3 separate regions of the Homo sapiens genome follow, and all the other regions are linked to region 1. Evidence: promoter capture Hi-C in human tissues and cell types (Jung and others, 2019). All regions are on one chromosome and are shown on one strand. The core of a region is centred on a gene start or on the middle of the fragment in contact, and the rest is flanking DNA. Distances in the headings are between cores, read along the strand shown.

What was found. Contacts are between HindIII fragments. The study calls those that stand out against the background at their distance.
Region 2: a fragment that was not itself captured here is called in contact with the fragment with the promoter of LRP8 in region 1 in 2 of the 25 tissues and cell types used here (aorta and hippocampus).
Region 3: a fragment that was not itself captured here is called in contact with the fragment with the promoter of LRP8 in region 1 in 4 of the 25 tissues and cell types used here (mesenchymal stem cells, mesendoderm cells, stomach and 1 more).

Annotation. Positions count from the first base shown.
Region 1 is chr1:53,326,820-53,330,375 of GRCh38, reverse strand. It overlaps LRP8 (LDL receptor related protein 8), which reads left to right and starts at 2,306. Exons shown (of 19, transcript NM_004631.5): 1 at 2,306-2,587; 2 at 3,384-3,503. The coding sequence starts at 2,464. It overlaps LRP8-DT (LRP8 divergent transcript), which reads right to left and starts at 2,143. Exons shown (of 3, transcript NR_131923.1): 1 at 2,001-2,143. RefSeq lists enhancers at 1,870-2,099, 3,150-3,259 and silencers at 2,170-2,369, 2,440-2,589, 2,640-2,809, 3,325-3,556. The HindIII fragment of the contact is 17,458 bases long and covers 1-3,556 here.
Region 2 is chr1:53,389,315-53,392,870 of GRCh38, reverse strand. No RefSeq gene overlaps it. Among named protein-coding and RNA genes, the nearest start is that of LINC02812, 23 kb to the right of the region's middle. The HindIII fragment of the contact is 5,801 bases long and covers 1-3,556 here.
Region 3 is chr1:53,366,363-53,369,918 of GRCh38, reverse strand. It overlaps LINC02812 (long intergenic non-protein coding RNA 2812), which reads left to right and starts at 1,770. Exons shown (of 2, transcript XR_001738058.2): 1 at 1,770-1,913; 2 at 2,642-3,556. The HindIII fragment of the contact is 5,363 bases long and covers 1-3,556 here.

The DNA of each region.
Region 1 (3,556 bases), core at 1,057-3,556:
TCAGCTTCCTGAGTAGCTGGGACTACAGGTGCCCGACACCATGCCCGGCTAATTTTTTGTATTTTAGTAGAGACAGGGTTTCACCGTGTTAGCCAGGATGGTCTCAATCTCCTGACCTCATGATCCGCCCGCCTCGGCCTCCCAAAGTGCTGGGATTACAGGTGCGAGCCACCACGCCCGGCCTCTTTTCCTTTCTTTTCTTTTCTTCATCTGCTGCCTCTAGACTTCGGCCCACATACTAATCTTACAGTTGGAATGAACCTCAGAAATTCCTTATCTCTTCCATTTCCCAGATAAGAAAGTGAGACTGGGAGATAGGATTGACTTTCCTAAGACCACAGAGTGGAGGAGGAGGAGGGACTGAGTTGGATAGGTCAGTTTGGGCAGCAAGACGGGCTTCTATCTTTATCCCACAGTCCCAGGCACCATTGTGCTTGACACAGAATCCAAACTCCCAGCTGTGGCCTACAAAGCCCTGGTGATCAGGGCCTTGCCAACTCCCTCCAGCCTCACCTGAGGCACCCACTCCTTCCCTGTCATCAGGCCCCGGCCCACCTTGATTGCCATTCCCTTTGCCAAGAATGCCCTTCCGCCTGATCTTCATGGGTCAGGATCCATCTTGCCATTCAGTGAAATGTCACCTCCTCTGTGAGGCCTTGCCTGATCACCTCTACAGTTACCCCCATTGCTCTCACCTGGGTCTGTTTTGTTTTTTCCATAGAAGTTATGATGACCTGAAATAATCTTTTGTTTTCCTGCTTTTGTGTGTATCTCTTCCAACTAAGACATAACTGCAGGAGAGCAGGGAGGAACCTTATCTGTTTCCACTGTATCCTTGAGCCTTGAAGGGCGTTTGGCACATATAGGTGAAAGGACGCCTGCATTTCGTTGTCTGTGTGCTAATGGTCTGTCTCCCCACAGGTCAGGGACCTCTCCGGGGCTGGCACCATGCCTGATTCACCTTGGTACCCGCAGGCCCAGCACAGGGTTGGCACAGAACAGGGCCTGAAATGCTTGCTGAATGACTGAATGAACAAGGGACAGGAGGGGTGATGATGGCAGGAGCACCGTGCCGGGCTCTCTGGGGATCTAAGTCCCTTTCTGGTGGGGTGGCCACAGATATTGCCGCTGGGCTGCCCTTTGGGGGACTACGGCTCAGGAGGCTGCTGAGGAGACAGGGTGGTTTCCAGGCCAAGGGCTAACAGCACCTGCCCATCCGCGAGGGAGGTGAAGGGGCAAGAGGGGAGGGAGGGTGGACCTAACACTGGCTCTTGGCACCTGCAGGCCGGTTGTTTTGAGTGGCCAATGCCCTGGAATCTCATTCTCTAAAGAAGGTTGTGTGGGTTGGACCCGGCTCACAAGTCTGAGGCTGAAATCGAATCCCAGCTCGCTCTCCGCACCCATTCTCCCCAGTGTGGGTGAGGCGGGCTGCAGCCCTCCAGAGGAAGAGGTGCCTTCTCCTTCCTGCAGAAGACAGCAGGGGCGGACAGCGCGGGCCTAGGTGCGCGGCCCCTAGCGGCAGGGATGGCATCCCTTCCGTGCCCTCCCCTTCCCCCCCGCCCGGCCCGCCCCACAGACCTCGTCTTTCTCCATCACAGCGAGGATTCCTTGTCTTCCCTGCGGGCCCCCCCTGGTTGCCCCTCTGACTAGGGGCCTGGAGCGTACTTAACGACGATGAATAGTCTGTGCACCAGGCCCAATCCACCTGCCTCACGTCCCCATGATCACATGAGCGTGCAACATGCACAGATGCACATGGCACGGAAACCAAACCAGCCACAGGGATTTATAATATCCCAGCCGGAGCCCATGACAGGTGCAGGGGTCCAGCCCTGCGCCCCCAGCTTCTCCCTGCTCATCCACATCTTGGGATCTCACCCCTATCCCTCCCTCCCCCGCCCCACGCGCACACTGCACAGGCCTGTTCGTCCTGTAACATCATTTCCCCTCCCGCCCAGGCTCACTCCTAGACATCCCTCAGCCTCTGATCCGCCTGTCACCTCCTCCAGGAAGCCTCTGCTGCTTCCTCTGGACCTGCTACCTCCGTGGTGAGGGGCTCGCCTGGCCCATCCCTGCGTCTGCAGAGCCCAGCACTCAGGCGAGCCCAGAGCAGGGCCGTGGAGCGCCCGCTGAGAGAAGAGTGGACGAAAGACAGGAGGGAGGAGGGCGAGGAGGCGGCGGCAGGGGGAGCGTGGGGCGGAGGCGGCAGCGGGAGGGAGCGCGCGCGCTGGCGGCGGCCGCCCAGGGCCGGGGCCGCGCGCCCAGCCTGAGCCCGCCCCGCCGCCGAGCGTCACCGAACCTGCTTGAAATGCAGCCGAGGAGCCGGGGCGGGCGGCAGCGGCGGCGGCGGCGGCGGCGGGGGCAGCGGCAACCCCGGCGCCGCGGCAAGGACTCGGAGGGCTGAGACGCGGCGGCGGCGGCGCGGGGAGCGCGGGGCGCGGCGGCCGGAGCCCCGGGCCCGCCATGGGCCTCCCCGAGCCGGGCCCTCTCCGGCTTCTGGCGCTGCTGCTGCTGCTGCTGCTGCTGCTGCTGCTGCAGCTCCAGCATCTTGCGGCGGCAGCGGCTGATCCGCTGCTCGGCGGCCAAGGTGCGTGCAGCCGGTCTCTGACTCGGCTCTGCTCCGCCCTAGCCACCAACAAAGCGCGGCCGGGAGGCCGGAGCGGGGAGGGGTCCAGAACCCGGGGCTATCGGGGGCTCCCGGGCGGACAGGCTCCACGCGAAGCGGCTATTCCTGAATTTGCCCTCGGCCCCCCGCCCCCGCGGGCCTCGGTGTTGAGGGCTCTGCCCTCTGGGCAGCGGATCTTGGGGGAGGGGTGCAGGGGGGCTTGGCCAGCGGGGAACTTTGCCGGAGGGGCGGCCATTCATGGTTCCGGATGAGCTGTGTGATTCTCGCCGTTGGGGTTTATTTGACACGCGCGCTCCGCGGCGGTAATGAGCAGAGCCGGGCGGCTTCTCCGCTTGACAATGCGTTTCCGCAGACCCCTGCGCGCGGCGGAGAGAGAGGGGGCTGCCTGCCAGGGTGATGTGCCTGCGGCTCCCACTGCGCCTGGCGCGCGGGCGCGGGGACTCCCTATGGGCTGTATCTGAGCAGATCTCTGACTATGGGTCGCGTGTGCGGGTGAGTGCGTCTGAATGGAGGGTATACCCAGGTCGTGTGACACTTTAAGTAGGTGCCTGGTCTCGCCGTGCCACCGAGCGGCCCGACATCCACGGAACCCCTGCCATCGTGCCCTCCCTTTGGATGGAGTGTGCCTGAAGCCCCCGGGGTCTCCATAATCGCCCCCTTTCCTCCTCCCCAGCGGGTCCTTCCGGGTGGCCCGGACTGCATGGTGGGGAGTGGGGCCGAGTCCGCTGATCCAGCTCACGCTCCCTCCCCCTCGCAGGGCCGGCCAAGGATTGCGAAAAGGACCAATTCCAGTGCCGGAACGAGCGCTGCATCCCCTCTGTGTGGAGATGCGACGAGGACGATGACTGCTTAGACCACAGCGACGAGGACGACTGCCGTGAGTGGCGGGCCAGGGAGCTCAGACCCGGGGAGAGAAAAGGAACGGTGGGG
Region 2 (3,556 bases), core at 725-3,224, 63 kb before region 1:
AATCAACCCATTCCCCCATTAGGCCCCTCACTCTCAGGGGATCTGCGTGGCAGGAGGAGACCTTGGGACCCCCTCCCATAACACTCACAACAAGGCTTTAGCCTCCTAGAGCCCGGGCAGGTTTGGCTCTGACCCAAGGCCAAGTGTGTGTGTAGGTTCATCTTGAAGTCAGCTCCAGGGTCAGCTCAGAACTGCCCTGGCTGGGCAGTGTTGTGTGGGCCCGGAGCAGGCTCTGCACTGGCTGTGTTAGGGTGAGAGAGGGCAGCCTTGCTCGGGGGGGGGCGCTGTGCAGACGAGTGTCTCAGAGCGGAGTTCGGCGATGTGATTAAACATCACGAACAACAGAGTTAATCCCACGCCCAAGAAAGAAGTGATGGCGATTGCGTGGTATAATTGGGCAGAAAAGAAAATGTGTGTGTAAATGACTACAATTAATGCTGCTTTTGCTCAGCAAACCTTTCACAGCTTCCCGTTCTCTGCCGGTGCTTTCCTGTGTAAGGCAGTGTTGGTCATTTCTCCTGACACCAATTTCATAGCCATCCTATGTACCCAAACAGAGACAGGGATTTTCCTGGAGGCACCTTCCTTTCCCTACTTGTAGCCTACATGGTTTATGTGGTGCTGACCCCATGCCAACCTCAGGGGTAAGCACATGGTGCAGACATGCCCCATTAGAGTACTGCATACACTGTGCCCAGTGACTAGTGTAGGGATGACTGTGCAACCCAGTCACAGTCAATGAAATGCAGCTGGATTCTGGTTAGATCTGTAAAAAAAAAAAAAAAAAAAAAAAAAAATCTCTCTCTGCTGGCCTTGATGTGGGAAAAATGAGACCAGCCCATGGAGAGAGTGTGCCAGGGAATTATGTTGATTAAGAAAATGGCAAAGCAGAGGGACCAGGTCCTCTTGACTTTGCTTATCTGCTGGATCCAGCCATGCCCGAAGCGAACCTGAGCCTTTTAGTTATGTGAGCCAATACATTCAATTTTTTGCTTATGCTAATTTGAGTTAGGTTTATGTCACTTGCAACTAAAAATCTCCTATCTGCTGCATACTACATACTACATACTAGGGAGATTTAAGACCAAAGAAAGATGGAAGTGAGAGGGAACCAATCAGATATGAGGGCCTGAACTTGAACAGGTACTAGGGAGAGAGATGTAGCCAGATCCAAGAAGAACTCCGCAGGCATTGTCAGTGGGACTCCCTGAGTGACTGGATTTGTTGGAAGAGGGAGAGAGAGAAGTGAGGATGAGTTAGTGGGGGCAGGGGACAGTCTTCCATTTACAGAGGCAGAGACTATGAGGTGTGGGCATGTGGAAAGACACCAACTTCCACTTGGCAAATATGTAATCTGGGTGCCCCTGGGCATCCTGGCATTTGTCCAGTGGGCCTCTGGCTGTGTGTGTCTGAGGGTCAGAAAGCTCCAGGAGGCCGAGTGTGGTCACTCACACCTATAATCCCAGCATTTTATTATAGGAGGCCAAAGTGGGAAGATTGCTTGAGCCCAGGAGTTCAAGACCAGCCTGGGCAACATGATGAAACCCTGTTTCCACAAAAAATGAAAAAAATTAGCTAGGTGTGGTGGCATATGCCTGTAGCCCCAGCTACTTGGGAGGCTGAGGCACGAAGATTGCTTGAGCCTGGGAGGTGGAGGCTGCAGTGAGCCGTGATCCTGCCACTGCACTCCAGCCTGGTTGACAGAAGGAGACATTGTCTCAAAAAAAAAAAAAAAAAAAAAAAAGAAGGAAAGAAAGGAAAAAACTCTGGGCCTGAGTAAGCTGAGTGGTCAGCAGAGGGGAGCGGCTGAAAGCTTCGAGGGTGGAGATGTTCCCCGGGAGATGGGAGAGTGTGGCAGAGGAGGCGGGCCCATGCGCTGAGGGGCACCTATGTTAAGGGAGAACAAAATGCTGGAAACAGAGAAGAAAAGGGTTTGGAGCTGACCCTCCAGAGAGCCCTGTGGGAGTCACTGCCAGCCCCCTTGTTAACCTGGCTGCCACCAGCCTGGAACGCCCGTCCCTAAGGGCAGAGACTATGTCTGATTCATTCCCCAGGGTATTCCAGCAGCAGCCTGGTGGTAGGCACTCGGTAACTTCTGGGTCCATGAGTGAAGGAAAAGGGAAAGAGCAGAAGGGCTGGTGGACTACAGATTGGAATTTGGCCCAACTTCTTTAAAAAAAAAACAAAACAAAACAAAAAAACACATAGATTGGAACATTAGGAAACCAGGTTGGTGAGTTCCTTGGAGGGGGTGCCTTTGTCTGGTGCCTCTGTGAGGCCTGTCTCCTCCAATTTCAGGGCCAGAGTCCTCCCCACTCCCCTTCTCCTCCTTCTGCTGTCTCAAGTCACAGCCAGGGAGGAGCTGGCAGGAAAACAGGCCACTTGGTTTCATTTCCCTTTTCGAGAGCCTGGTGTTCCCTTAATGTATGTGTCCCCTGGCACCTGGCCCTGGCTCCTCTGCCTCCTCCCGAGGCAATGTCTCCACTCTCAAGGCTTCCAGACGCTTCCCTCTGCTGACCATCATGCTGTCTGCTCAGGCCTGGAGCTCTCTGACCCGCAGACACACACGACCAGTGGCCCACTGGGCAAGCACCAGGATGCCCAGGGGCACCCAGACTGCACAATTGGGATGTGGCAGCTGGTGTCTTTTCACGTTCCTGCTCCTCATACTCTCTGCCTTGGTGGATTACATGATCTTGACCCCCTGGCAGGTCCTTCTCTCTGTCCCCCAAACCCACTCAAATCCAGCTACTCCTCAAGTCCTTTTGAGGCTGCCTGCTAAGTTCTCAGATCTGCCCTTTGTTCTTCCTCAGGGCTTGCTGAGTCCATGCCCTCACACTGGCTGGTTCTGCTCATTCTTACCCATCCTCCTGGCTCCTGCTGTGATCTGAATGTTGGTGTTCCCCCAAAATTCATATGTTGGAACCTAATACCCAATGGGATAATATAAAGAGGTGATTAAGTCATGAGGGTTCCACCCTCATAAATGGGGCTCATGCCCTTAAAAAGATGCTCGGGGCCGGGCGTGGTGGCTCATACCCATAATCCCAGCACTTGGGAGGCCAAGGGTGGATCACTTCCGGCCAGGTGTTTGAGACTAGCCTGGGCAACATGGTGAAACCCCGTCTCTATTAAAGAGACAAAACAGATCCTCAGGGGGCCTTCTTTGCTCCTTCCACCAAATGAAGACACAGCAAGAAGTTGCGGTCCATAAGGAACAGGCGCTCGCCAGACACCAAACCTGCCAGCACCTCAATCTTGGACTTTCCAGCCTTCAGAACTGTGAGCAATACATTGGTATTGTTTATAAATTACCCAGTCTACAGTATTTTGTTATAGCCACCTGAATGGACTAAGACAGCCCCCAAGCTCCCTGACACTGCTGGCGCCTGCTGGGAACCAGACTCACCCACCCCCCTCCCCACCCCTGGGCCACAACTGCTGCCACCATCCACCAGTCTCCTTTGTTATTTCTTCCCCTTCCCCTTTCTCCCACACTTCCCCCCACCCCCAGCCTGGGATCCAGACACTGTCCTTGCCAAATGGGGTGGAGTGA
Region 3 (3,556 bases), core at 531-3,030, 40 kb before region 1:
GTGTCCTTGAGACATTTATGTTTGGGAACCAGTGTGGGGCAAAGGGCTCAAGCCAGGCAGGTTGGAGACCTGGCTGCCATGTGTCGGCTCTGTGACCTTGGCTGAATGTCCTGGTCTCTCCTGGGATCAAATGATACTCCTGCCCCAGCCTCCCGAGTAGCTAGGACTACAGGAAAGCACCACCACACCCAGCTAATTTTTTGTTATTGTTTATAGAGATGGGGTCTTGCTATGTTGCCCAGGCTGGCCTCAAAGTCCTGGCCTCAAGAGATCCTCTTGTCTTGGTTTCCCAGAGTACTGGGATTACAGGCGTGAGCCACTGCACCCAGCCTGTGGCTTTACCATAAACCACCTGCATGCAGTGAAGCCCAAGCTCTCCTCCTATGGCCTCAGAGCTGTCCAGTCTGGGCTGGTGCCAGACCCTCTAGCGCTCGGCACACAGGAGGTGCTCATGAACCCCAGAGGACCTTGACGTAGAGAGCTGGTGTGGTGGATGCTGCGGTAGCCTAGGAAACGAAGAGGCCAGGGGTGGGGCCCAGCCACAATTGTGGGCCCTTTCTGGGCCTCAGTTGCCTTACTGCCAGTGGGGACCATAGTTGCTGCCCTCTCCACATGCAGAACACAGGTGAAATAATAATGGCTAATCCTCATGAAGTGCTTCCCAGGGGCTCTGTTGTCCCGAGAGTCACCTGTGTATTACCTCATTTAGTCCACATACCAGCCCTGCGGGGTAGACACTGTTACTCCACTTTACAGACAAAGACGCACGGAGGATTAGATAACTTGCCCAGAGACACAGCTGATTGTGGTGAAGGCTGGCTTCAGAGTCACTGCTCGGGCCCTTCACACTGCAGGTGGCAGGCTCAGGAAGGGGTATTTGTGCTCCAGCTTCTTGGGTTGTCAGAACTGGTTCTGGTCACCTCCTAAACACTGGCAGGACTTGCCAGGGCCACAGAGCCTGATGGTGTCTGGGCTTCCTGGACTGGGGAGCTCTGCTTAGCCCCGTCAGAGTGGACCTGAGCAGGCTGAACCCCAGGGCTCAGGCTGTGGGTGGGACTGTGGGAGGAGGAAGAGAGAGGGTCTGCCGCCAGCGGACTGGGCAGCAGGATAGACTGTCAGCAGGCAGCAGCAGCCTTGGCGTCATTCCCAGTCAAGGGCAGAGCTGCGTCCCTAGAGCCGCCTCCCGCCCCTGCCAGGACCCCACAGTTTCTCCTAGGGGTGAAGAGTGGCTGCGGCCCTGGGAGGAATGGCTGAGGCCGATGCCACATGGTGAGCCTAGGCACCCGGGCCCAGCTGGCTCCCAGCCCATCCATTGCTGGGATGGAAAGGGCAGGCAGTTGGAAGGGCAAAAGAAGGAAGCAACATGCCCACAAAGCCTCTGCTGGGCTAATCCTCTTCTAGTCCCCACACGGTACGTTGCGTGGAATGGTTAGGACAGCCTGTTTAACAGAAGGGAAACTGAGGACTGGCAGTGTGGAGGAAATAGACAATTAAAAGCAAAGAGACAGCTGGGCAGGGAGTGTTTGCAGCCCTGGAGGCAGATACAAAGTTGCACCCGGGCTAAAGCCTGAGAGACAGCATTTACTGAGCACCTTTTTTGTGCCTGGCAATGTGCTCTGTTAGCTCCATTTTACAGATAAGCAATCTAAGGTTCAGAAAAGAGGAAGCAGCCAGCCTCGGGCCATGCAGCTGGCTGAGTGAGAGCTCCTAACTTGTACTTTCTCCCCTCCCCGGAAGCTTTGGTTTGTTGGGGGAAGCAGATTCATATCAGACCCAAGGCAACTCAGCTGTGATTGAGATAGACATTGAGTCTTTTGGGAGACAGAAGGGAGGGAGAGTGCCAGTCAAAAGGGTTTCGTGAAGAAGGTTGCATCTGACTGGGACAGTTAGGCCTCTGTGTACCACTTTAAAAGGTAAGACAAGGGGAAAGAGGGCATGGGGAAAAAGGACTTGGGGACAGAGGGCATGGGGGCAGGCAGGTGAGGGCCGTGCTTGGAGAATTGTGAGGGGTCCTGGGAGGCTGGATCACTGGTTGTGGGGAAGGGAGGGAGGCCAGGCAACCCCTGATGGGGTCCCCTGGGGAGATAGCCCTGGGGCTTGGAGCATGGGGATGGGAAGTGACTGGGAGGACGCTGCACAGGGCATGGGGTGTGGGGAAGTGAGTGCCAGGGAGCTGGGTGTGGAGCCAGGCACCTGCCGGGCTTCTGGGTTCCCCCAGCAGCTCTCAGGGACTCAAGCTCTGCATCAGGCACACCTCAGTTTAAGTCCTGGCTCTGCCATTACTAGCTGGGTGGCCTTGGGAAGTTGCTTGTCATCTCTGAGGCTGGCTTTTCCCCTCTGTAAGGGGAAGATAACCATAGAACTCCCTCCAGGGGTGGCTGTGTATGGCAGCTGTCAGCGCTCAGGACATTTCACTTAACCCTTCTGACCTAGGAGTTAGGAGCTATCATCGCCCTCGTTTCGTGAAGGGCTGACCAGCGACTGATCATGGCTACGATGTAAAGGTGCAGACATTTTGACCTCCCATGGGATAATTTAGATGGGCCACATGGGCTCCAGGGATGGCTGAAACTCCGTTGGAGCTGCGTCACTGTTCACCTTCTCTCTACCAAATCCTGCTTCCTCCCTATCTCTTCCCCAGGTGTTGACTTTTCTAGTAAATATCCTCCATGTCAAAGTCTATCTCAAGATCTGTTCCAGGACAACCCCGCCTGCAACAGGGCCCATTTATGTTCCAGCCAGCACGGTGATCCTGAGTCTGGGAGGGTGCCCACAGACTGCTTTTGTGAGCAGCATGCCTTCAGTGGCCAGTCCCCAAGCCCCTCAACTCCATGTGGAGCAAGGACCAACCACCCCATGGAGAAGAGGAACCCGCCTGCAAGGCGAGCCAAGAAGGGACCTTTGGAACCAGCCACACTGGACTCTGTAGGGGGCTGGATGGCTGGCCCCAAAAGGATAGGTCCATGTCCTAAGCCCCAGAACCCGTAAATATTGCCTTATTTGGAAAGAAATTCTTTGTAGATGTCATTAGGGATTTTGAGATGAAGAGATCATCCTGTATTATGCAAGTGGGCCCTCAATCCAATGGCAAGTGTCCTTACAAGAGTAAGGCAGGGCTGGGTGTGGTGTCTCACACCTGTCATCCCAGCACTTTGGGAGGCCAAGGCAGGAGAATAGCTTGAGGCCAGGAGTTCAAGACTGGCCTGGGCAACGTAGTGAGACCCTCCATCTCTACAAAAAAAAAAAAAAAAAACAGAAAAAAACCCCACAAAGAACTAGCCAGACGTGGTGGCACATGCCTATAGTCCTAGCTACTCAGGAGGCTGAAATGGGAGGATGGCTTGAGTCTGGGAGGCAGAGGTTGCAGTGAGCAGTGTTGCGCCACTGCACTACAGCCTGGACAACAGAGCAAGACCCTGTTTCAAAAAGAAAAAAAAGCGGGGGGAGTGAGGCTGAAGGAGAGACACACACCTAGAGAAGAAGGTGATGTAAAGATGCAAAAATAGGGCCAGGCGCAGTGGCTTACGTCTGTAATCCCAGCACTTTGGGAGGCTGA